Regions from separate parts of the Homo sapiens genome. Here region 2 is linked to region 1. The links are contacts of gene promoters, found by promoter capture Hi-C in human tissues and cell types (Jung and others, 2019). All regions are on one chromosome and are shown on one strand. Each heading gives the region's core, a stretch centred on a gene start or on the middle of the fragment in contact. The rest is flanking DNA. Distances are from core to core; before and after follow the strand shown. Region 1 holds the start of NR0B2 (nuclear receptor subfamily 0 group B member 2). Region 2 overlaps LOC101928391 (a long non-coding RNA gene).

Evidence for each region. Contacts are between HindIII fragments. The study calls those that stand out against the background at their distance.
Region 2: a fragment that was not itself captured here is called in contact with the fragment with the promoter of NR0B2 in region 1 in 2 of the 25 tissues and cell types used here (mesendoderm cells and spleen).

The regions. Positions count from the first base shown.
Region 1 is chr1:26,910,246-26,915,288 of GRCh38, forward strand. NR0B2 (nuclear receptor subfamily 0 group B member 2) reads right to left here and starts at 3,730. Exons shown (of 2, transcript NM_021969.3): 1 at 3,164-3,730; 2 at 1,244-1,841. The coding sequence starts at 3,695. The coding sequence ends at 1,600. It also overlaps a transcript of NUDC not described here. The HindIII fragment of the contact is 33,061 bases long and covers 1-5,043 here.
Region 2 is chr1:27,058,349-27,063,058 of GRCh38, forward strand. It overlaps LOC101928391 (a long non-coding RNA gene), which reads left to right. Exons shown (of 8, transcript XR_007065559.1): 6 at 50-174; 7 at 1,666-1,732. Among named protein-coding and RNA genes, the nearest start is that of TENT5B, 48 kb to the left of the region's middle. RefSeq lists a silencer at 710-1,004. The HindIII fragment of the contact is 6,810 bases long and covers 1-4,710 here.

The DNA of each region.
Region 1 (5,043 bases), core at 2,480-4,979:
GTTGGAGAGTCTGTTTTATGCGTCTGTGTAGGTGTGCCTGAGTTGTACATCTTAGTATGTGTGTGTTGGGGGGTGTCCAAGTTGTGTTGTTTGTATTTGTGTGAGATCTCAGCTGTGTTTTTGTCTCTATCTGGTGTCTGACTTGTGAGTGAGAGGCTGGGTAAGGGACAGGGTTCCCCTTGCTCCTGGCACTGGGTCACCATAATGGGTACGAGGCCAATTAGCTATAGTCCTAACCTGGGGGGCTTAGAGAAAGGCCTGAATGATGACGCCTAGACTGTTATCCCCAAGTGAATGGCCTCTTATTGAGCAATCATTAACTTGGCCCCTGTGACAAGAATCCAAACTGTTATGGTGAAGAGGGTGGGGACTGGTCAGGGCAGGACTTACTGCGGGTGAAAGGGGGAGGCCGGAAAATCCTATAGGCATGTGTGTTGTTATCACTCCTTCCTGCCCACCCTTCAGGTCACTCACCCTGACCCATGGCAACTGGGTCAAAATATTTAACAAACAGTGAGGCACAGATATTGACCAGTCAGAATAGACACAAGTCATATTCTGAATGGAGCAGTCAGGGAGGTCATGGCTATGCCAAGAGTTGCCTCTTTAGTTGCTAGACAGTGGGAATGTCTGGGAGGAGAATCCCAGGAGAGGGGCTGGGGCAGAGGGGCAGGGAAGGAAACTGGGGAGGCCTCAGGGTGGTGGCTGTGAGCCAAGTGTCATGGAAGGGTTTCAGACTTAAACAACTGATGTAGTCAAATCCTGGTGGTCCAGCTAAACCTTGGTCTGCCTTGGCCTTCAAGCAGTTGCCAGGCCAGCCCTGGGTACCCTTGTCCCTTCCCTTTGGGAAAATAATGGACCACTCTCTTTTGTCATCTGCAGGAATGGGGGAAGTGAATGATCTCAAACTACAGAAATGGCAGTGAACTTGTCTGTTTCAATTCGGGAGTGGGCTGCTTCCTGATTGGCTGTGATTGGGCTTTCACTGTGGTAAGAGGGCGCCTGAAGTGGGTAGGAGCCAGGGGAGCGGTTAGTGAAGGGTTTGGGAATGGGAGAGCAACCTCCTTCCCCTGAGGATAAAGACAATGAGGTGATGGGATTGTGAACTGATACTGTTCCCTGGAAAATTAGCTCCAGCAACCCTGTGGATTTTTTCCCTTGGGCTACCTCTGATAGCAGCAGGGTGGGCCCTGGAGGTGAGACAGTCCCTTCCATATGCACAAATGACAGTATCAGGCTCCAAGTGTTTCATACCTTTTATTACAAAAATCAATAACTTAATTCAGTTCTGTATAAAGTCGATAGGACTTCTGGTCCAATAAGCAGCCTAAGCTTTCATTCTCATCCCAAGAAGGGACAGGAGTCTTGGCCCAGAGGCTGTGGGGACCACCAAAAGCCTCCCAGGCAGCTGGAACACTGTGTCCAAACCAAGGAAGTCCAATGTGGGGTGTGGCTGAGTGAAGAGCTGTTCCTAAGGAGCCAAGTGCTGTCTATACAGGCTTGCCCCCTCCAGGAGCATTGGGTCACCTCTGGGGATGGCCAGGCTGAATCAGCACTGCCAGCCTCTGCCCACCTGATCTCTGCCTGGGCTGGAACAGGTCACCTGAGCAAAAGCATGTCCCCAAGAAGGCCAGCGATGTCAACATCTCCAATGATAGGGCGAAAGAAGAGGTCCCCAAGCAGGCTGGTCGGAATGGACTTGAGGGTGGAGGCCGTGAGGAGGACACGGGTCAGGCGGCCTTGGGCTGCTGGGCACCAGGGTTCCAGGACTTCACACAGCACCCAGTGAGCCTCCTGCTGCAGGTGCCCAATGTGGGAGGCGGCTTGGAGGCCTGGCACATCTGTGGGCAGAGAGGGAGAAGAGGGCTGGTGAGCACCCTACTCCCAGCCACCAAAGGACAAGACTGGCCCAAGATCTGGGCCATCAGAGACACCCCTCTGCCTCCTTTGCTCGGCCTTTGAGGTCCCACTACTACCTCCTCCTTTAGAGGAGGTAATTTATTTATCAATTTTCAATGTATTCATCCATCCATTTATGAAGAGGCAGTGTGGAGTAATGGTTAAGAATTAGGCTTCCTGGGTATGAATCCCAGCACTGTCACTTATTAGCTGGGTGACCTTGGGCAAGTCACTTAATCTCTGGGCTTCAGTTTCTTTATCTGTAAAACGGGAATAATAATATTAATAGGACCTGTCTCCTAGGCTTTTATGAGATTTAAATGAACTAGTATATGTAAAACCCTTAGAATAGGGCCTAACATATGGTAAGTGTGATATGAGTATTTGCTACTATTATTACAATTAATTACTACGATTTATGCGTGCCACAAGGGACTCCTGGGGAACTCTCATCTCAGATGCTCTCCAGATTACAAACAGCACTGTCTCCATCTGCCGCTCTCCTGGCCGAATTCCATAAAGACTCCTTTCCTGTCCTCCCTACGCCCCTTTCAGTCATCTCTTCTATGTGATCTTTCTGAACCCACAGAGGAGTTTTAGCTCTAGAGCTTCACCATGCAGCCTTCCTTTGAGGATGTGACTGAGACACAGCTGTGTCTGCCCACCCCACCTCCCCACAGCCTTCTGTAAAGGTCAGAGCAAATTTCTCAGGCAGAGTGGCAAGGGCCAGTCTCTGGAGTGAATAGACCTGAGTTGCCATCCTGGTCTGTCCCTACCTGGCTGTGTTACCTTTAGCTAGTCACTTAGCTTCTCTGTGCCTCTTCTGTGAGATGGCTATTTGATGAAAATGAGGACTGGCCAAGCACGGTGGCTCACGCCTGTAATCCCAGCACTTTGGGAGGCCAAGGTGGGTGGATCACCTGAGGGGTTAGGAGTTCAAGACCAGCTTGATCAACATGGTGAAAGCCCATCTCTACTAAAAAGTACAAAAATTAGCCGGGAGTGGTGGCGGCCATCTGTAATCCCAGCTACTCGGGAGGCTGAGGCAGAGAAAATTGCTTGAACCCAGGAGGCAGAGGTTGCAGTGAGCCAAGATCGCACCACTGCACTCCAGACTGGGTGACAGAGTGAGACTCTGTCTCAGAAAAATAAAAAGAAAATGAGGACCCAATGAGATAACAGATATCAAACCCTTAGAAGCTACCTTCCCTGGCTGGCCCCTGCTTCAGCCTTGCCCCCCACCCAGGAGTGTCTGGGAGCTCACCGGGGTTGAAGAGGATGGTCCCTTTCAGGCAGGCATATTCCTTGGGGCTAAGCTCCAGGCTCCAGAAGGACTCCAGACAGCATTGAAGCCACTGCACCGCAGCCAGGGAGGGCTGGGGTCTGTCTGGCAGTTGGCCACTGCCTCCACTGCTGCTGGGCTCCTCCAGCAGAATCTTCTTGAGTATGCTGGGCACCGGGGCCTCAGCCACCTCAAAGGTCACAGCATCTTGGGCCAACCCAAGCAGGAAGAGGGGGCCCCAGCAACCCTGCAGCAGCCGCCGCTGGTCCTGGGGAGGCAGCTGCCAGAAGGATGGCAGGTTCCTGAGGAAGGCCACTGTCTTGGCCAGAACATCCAAGGCCTCCCGGCAGGTGCGATGAGGTGCACATAGCTGGACGGGCCGGTGCTGCCTACATAGGCAGCGGCTACGGGGTCGGGGGACAGCCTTGAGGCTGGAGCTCAGAAGTGCGTAGAGAATGGCGGGGCGGCTTGCAGCTCCCTGGCATGGGCAGGCCCCTGGTTGGCTGGTGCTCATGGTTAGGGATCTGCTCTCACTTCCAGCTCTCTGGCTCTGTGTTCTGCGCTGTGGGTGCTATTTATATTCCCAGTGAGTGGAACGGGGGGAATGGCCCAACAACCTTGACTCCAGAAGTCATGTTCATTGAAAAAAACACACAGACATTGCCCCTGGCAGGAATGGTGGGGAAGTGGTGGGGGAGGGGGCATTGGGAACCCCACGTGGCACTGATATCACCTCAGTCAATGAAGTGGCCGGTGCAGGGCACAGGGCCACCTGCCGCTCACTCAGCTGCCCCTTATCAGATGACTCAAGTGGATAAACAAGGTCATTAACTCAGGCTGTACCAGGGCACCAAGGCCCCAGGTGCACAATCAGCAGGTGTCCCCATTGGTGCCCGCTCTTGTGTGCACAAAAGACTAGGGCTTTTGCTAAGCCAGGAAGCCAGCCCCAGAGCTGGGTGGGCCTTGAATGCAAGGCCCAACCTGGAAGTGCCTTATCACTAGCTTGTTTGCCTAACCTTGGGGCCCTGCTTCTGTTGTCAGCCAGAAGCAGGCTACAGGGAAGGGAGCCAGGACCCTGGGGGCTGGGAGGACTTTGCCCACTGTCCAATCTAGGAGGCCTCCTCCTCTGATTCCAGTTCTGGGCCCCCTGCAGGAATAAGGTCCTTCAGAATCCTTATCCCCAGCCTGATTCCTACCACTCCTGAAAGGCCAGGTCTGCTGAGAAGAACTCACAGAATTATAATAAAAGATAGTTGCCAGCCGGGCACGGTGGCTCATGCCTGTAATCCCAGCACTTTGGGAGGCTGAGGAAGGGGGATCATTTGAGGTCAGGAGTTCAAGACCAGCCTGGCCAACATGGCAAAATCCCGTCTCTACTAAAAATACAAAAATTAGCCGGGCATGGTGGCATGTGCCTGTAGTCCCAGCTACTCTAGAGGCTAAGGCAAAAGAATCACTCGAAACTGGGAGGCAGAGGTTACAGTGAGCTGAGATCATGCCACTGCTCTCCAGCCTGGGCAACAGAGCAAGATCCTGTCTCAAAAAAATATATATGTATATGTATATGTATATGTATATGTATATGTATATTTATATGTATATGTGTATATATATATACACATACATACATACATATATATATATATATATGTATATATATGGTTGCCATTCTCTAAGCACTTATTATGTGTCAGGCACTTCCCACTCTAATATTGGCAGCCTCTTCCTAAGGCTAGATTCTTACTTTATGAGACTAAAAAAGCTAAAGTGACTTGCCCAAGGTCATCCCACCAGGAAGACAAAGCCCAGATCTTGCCTGACTCCAAAGTCCTTGTTTGTTTCCCTGGACCCACTGGCCCAAT
Region 2 (4,710 bases), core at 568-3,067, 150 kb after region 1:
AGGAAGCTTTGGTTATAAATAACAACCTTTCCCCTCTGGATTCCTCCAGGTGCATTGGAAATTCAAATTTCAGAATAAGCTGACTGCCAAGAGGGCCCTCCCCCTGTCGGGAGTCCCTTAGTCCATGGGAAATTCACAGAGAAGGAAACAGTCACTTTTCCTGCACCTGAGAAGGTAAAAATCAAACTGCCTTAGAAAGATTCTGTCCTCCTAAAAACTGGTGCCTCTGTACACCTCAAGGAGTCAGCAGGCTCTCCCTCCGAGGCTTAAAAGCCTCAGGGATTTCTTTTTTTCTTTTTTTCTTTTTTTTTTTTTGAGACGGAGTCTCGCTCTGTCACCCAGGCTGGAGTGCAGTGGCGCGGTCTTGGCTCACTGCAACCTCTGCCTGCCGGGTTCAAGTGATTCTCCTGCCTCAGCCACCTGTGAGCCACCGTGCCAGCCAGCCTCAGTGATTTCTTAGGAGCCTGTTGTATGCAATCTTGAGGGCTGAAGAAGTGAGAGGGACCCACCCCATCCTACCTCTACAGAATGCTTGGCACCCCCACCAATGTTCCTAGACTCCATCTCAGGACCAAGGTAGTGTAGACCCAAAGCCCGGCCCTATCCTGGCTCCCAAGCATCCCACAGCCTCTGGGGTAGAGGTGGTTAGAGGCACCAGCTCTAGACCTTGGCTGCCTTCTGTCTGCCCTCAGGGTCTGCTCAGATCAGGACACCCCCTCCCCCAGGCTGGGGCTCAGCCTCAGCATCCTTGGCAGGGCTCCCCACAGGGGCATTTCCACAACTTTCCAGCCCTGGCCTCCTGTTCAAGGGTTCGGCCTCAGGCAGGACTAGAGCTGAGTTGCAGAGGAGGAGGAGGAGCGGGGAGAGAGCCGAGTAGTTCAGGTTGCCGCAGGGGAGACAGGAGGGAGGAGAAGAGAAGGAGGGGAGGGAGCGAAGGTCCTCAGAACCCAAGTGCGGGGCAGCCTCAGGAAGGTGACTTCTGTTATTCTCCCTGTGTGCTGTGTCTTTAGGAAAATCCCCCTCACACGACAGCCCAACAGCCTTATACCCGCAGTTGCTCTGGGAGCAGGGGAAAATGTCCTGCAGTTCTTGCCCCTCATTTGGGTCAACTCCAGGACAGAAGTAAAGGCGACAGCTGCAAGGAATCAGCAGAAGCAGGACAGCAGCCATGAGCACATGAGCCCCCAGAGCTGGCAGAAACCTTGGAGGCTTTGTGTAGCTACAGTGATGGCCACGTCTGGGCTGGCACTCACCTTATGCCAGTCTCTAGGGAGGAGCCCGCATTTGCAGGCTGGGTTACATCTTTTCCCCTCTTCCACGCTGGGATTCTTTTTTTTTTTTTTTTTTTTTTTTGAGACAGAGTCTCGCTCTGTCGCCCAGGCTGGAGTGCAGTGGTGCGATCTCGGCTCACTGCAAACTCCGCCTCCCAGGTTCAAGCAATTCTCCTGCCTCAGCCTCCGGAGTAGCTGGGATTACAGGCACCCACCCCCATGCCCGGCTAATTTTTGTATTTTTAGTAGAGACAGGGTTTCGCCATGTTGGCCAAGCTAGTCTCAAACTCCTGACCTCAGGTGATCCGCCTGCCTTGGCCTCCCAAAGTGCGGGGATTACAAGCATGAGCCACCGTGCCCGGCCTGGAAATTGTTTTTTTTTTTAAACCCTCAGGTGATTCTGACTCTCCTGGAACCTGAGAACCACCAGTCTACGGGAACAGAGCCCTGCTTTGGGTCAGGTGTGTATAACTATGGTATTCCCTTTCTTCTCTGCCTCTATTGTTGATGTTGTTTTTTTGTTTTTTGTTTTTTTTTGAAACGGAGTCTCGCTGTTGCCCAGGCTGGAGTGCAGTGGCGCAATCTCGGCTCACTACAATCTCCGCCTCTGGGGTTCACGCCATTCTCCTGCCTCAGCCTCCCGAGTAGCTGGTAAGGGAGGAGACCACCCCTCACATTGTCTTATGCCCAATTTCTGCCTCCAAAGAAAGAAGTAAAAACTAAAAGGCAGAAATGAAATCCACAGGCAGACAGCCCGGCGCTGCACCCTGGGCCTGGTAGTTAAAGATCGACCCCTGACCTAATCAGTTATGTTGTCTATAGATTACAGACATTGTATAGAAATGCACTGTGAAAATCCCTATCTGTTTTGTTCCGATCTAGTTACCAGTGCATGCAGACCCCAGTCACGTACCCCTTGCTTGCTCAATCAATCCCGACCCCCTCACACGCACCCTCCTTAGAGTTGTGAGCCCTTAAAAGGGATAGGAATTGCTCACTCGGGGAGCTCGGCTCTCGAGACAGGAGTCTTGCCGATGCCCCCAGCCGATTAAACCCCTTCCTTCAACTCGGTGTCTGAGGAGTTTTGTCTGCAGCTCGTCCTGCTACACTGGGACTACAGGCGCTCGCCACCACGCCCGGCTAATTTTTTATATTTTTTAGTAGAGGCAGGGTTTCACCGTGTTAGCCAGGATGGTCTCGATTGCCTGACCTCATGATCCGCCTGCCTTGGCCTCCCAAAGTGTTGGGATTACAGGCGTGAGCCACCGCGCCCGGCCCCACTCTCTACCTCTGTTTGTTTAGGGGCAGGCATAGAATCCCATTCTAGTCAATGAGACAGAAAGGGGTTCTGGAAAGTTCCCCCACCCCCTTATAAAACAAGGAGGACGTCTTCAAGGAGGACGTCTGAGGAGAAGCTTTGCCGTGGCCTTTTGCCTTTGGATGCTGCCAGAGGGGTTAGAAGGCGGAGCTCCACAGTCAGGCAGCTGGGGTGTGTATCCTAGCGGGGAGAGCAAGAGACAGTGGGACAAAAATAATAACAGTAATAGCAGCAATGCTTCTTGAGGACTTTCCGCATGGCAGGCCCTATTCTAAGCACCTCATGTAGCATATTTTACCCTCAAACAGTCCTGAGGTAGGTTCTGTTATTGCGATTTTATAAATGAGGAAACTGAAGCACAGACAAGTTTAAATAACTCGTTCAAAGTCATACAGCTCATACATGGAGGCCAGCATGCAGGCCAGGTGTGTGGGGTATGGGCATTGCGGGCTACTTTAGGGACCCTGACCTTTTCCTCAGCATAGTGGGAAGCTGGTGAAAGGTTTTAAGCAGGGGTGGCCCCTCTGATTTACCTTTTTTTTTTTTTTTTTTTTTTTGAGACAGTGTCTCACTCTGTTGCCCAGGCTGGAGCGCACTGGTGAGATCTTGGCTCACTGCAGCCTCAAACTCCTGGGCTCAAGTGATCCTCCCACCTCAGCCTCCTGAGAAGCTGGGACTACAGGCAAATGCTACAGTGGCTGGCTACTTTTTGTAAAGACGGAGTTTCACCATGTTACCCAGGCTGGTTTTGAACTCCTGAGCTCAAGCAATCCGTCCACCTCTGCCTCCCAAAGTGCTGGGATTACACGCATGAGCCACCACATCTGGCCTGATTTACTTTTAAAAGTCACTGAAATGCTTTGCTCCTAAATTCTCTGCTGGGGACAAGCCAGCCACACTTGCACGGCCTGTTCTTCAGCCTCTTTTCCTCCCTGAGACATCAGTCCCTTAGCAAACCCAGCGTCTTGGGTGACTGGGACCAGGGTGACTCAATGGCAGATGCTGATGGGTGAGACAGCCACAAAGATGATCTTTGGAGAGTGAGTTATAGGTGATTTGTTTTATTTAATTTTTAATTTTTTTATTTTTTTTTGAGACAGAGTCTCACTCTGTCGCCCAGGCTGGAGTGCAGTGGCGTGATCTCAGCTCACTGCAACCTCCTCCTCCCGGTTCAAGCTACTCTCCTGACTCAGCCTCCAGAGTAGCTGAGATTCCAGGCATGTGCCACCACACCCAGCTAATCTTTGTATTTTTAGTATAGACAGGGTTTCACCATATTGGCCAGGCTGGTCTCCAACTCCTGACCTCAAGTGATCCACCAACCTTGGCCTCCCAAAGTGTTGGGATTACAGGAGTGAGCCACCACCTCTGGCCAGGTGATTCGTTTTAAATCTGAATTTTTACATTTTTTTATAATAAGTGACCATATATCACTTGCTATTTAAAAAAAAATTTTTTTTGAGATGGAGTTTCACCCTTGTTGCCCAGGCTGGAGTGCAATGGCATGATCTTGGGCCACTGCAATCTCCGCCTCCCGGGTTCGAGCGATTCTCCTGCCTCAGCCTCCAAGTAGCTGGGACTACAGGCATGTGCCACCACGCCCAGATAATTTTTGTATTTTTAGTAGAGGCAGGGTTTCACCATGTTGGCCAGGCTGGTCTCAAACTCCTGACCTCCGGTGATTCTCCTGCCTTGGCCTCCCAAAGTGCTGGGATTACAGGCATGAGCCACCGTGCCCAGCCAAAAGTCATTATTTATAAAAAGAAAGATGAGGGGCCAGCACCCCACCCTCCCCAGGGTTGTTGACTCCTGCTGGTACTGGCTGTGGCTGAAGTCATCATCATGGAGGCTAACCCTTGGAGGGTAGATAGTGCAGTGGCAGCATCCTAAGGGCTTTATGTGACCTGTATGAACTCATTTAATCCCCACTGGCTTGGCCAAGGCCACAGAGCTGAAGAGTGGCAGGCTAGCGTCCGGACTCTCAGCTATGTACCAGGCTGCTTTTCTGGAAATGTTTTCCAGTTCCCCCGTGGGTGAAAGGCCTGTCCTTCCCACACCTTCCACAGTGGAAGTGGCCTCCATTCTCTGCTGTGCAGAATTGCTGGTGGAGAAGTGGGTGTT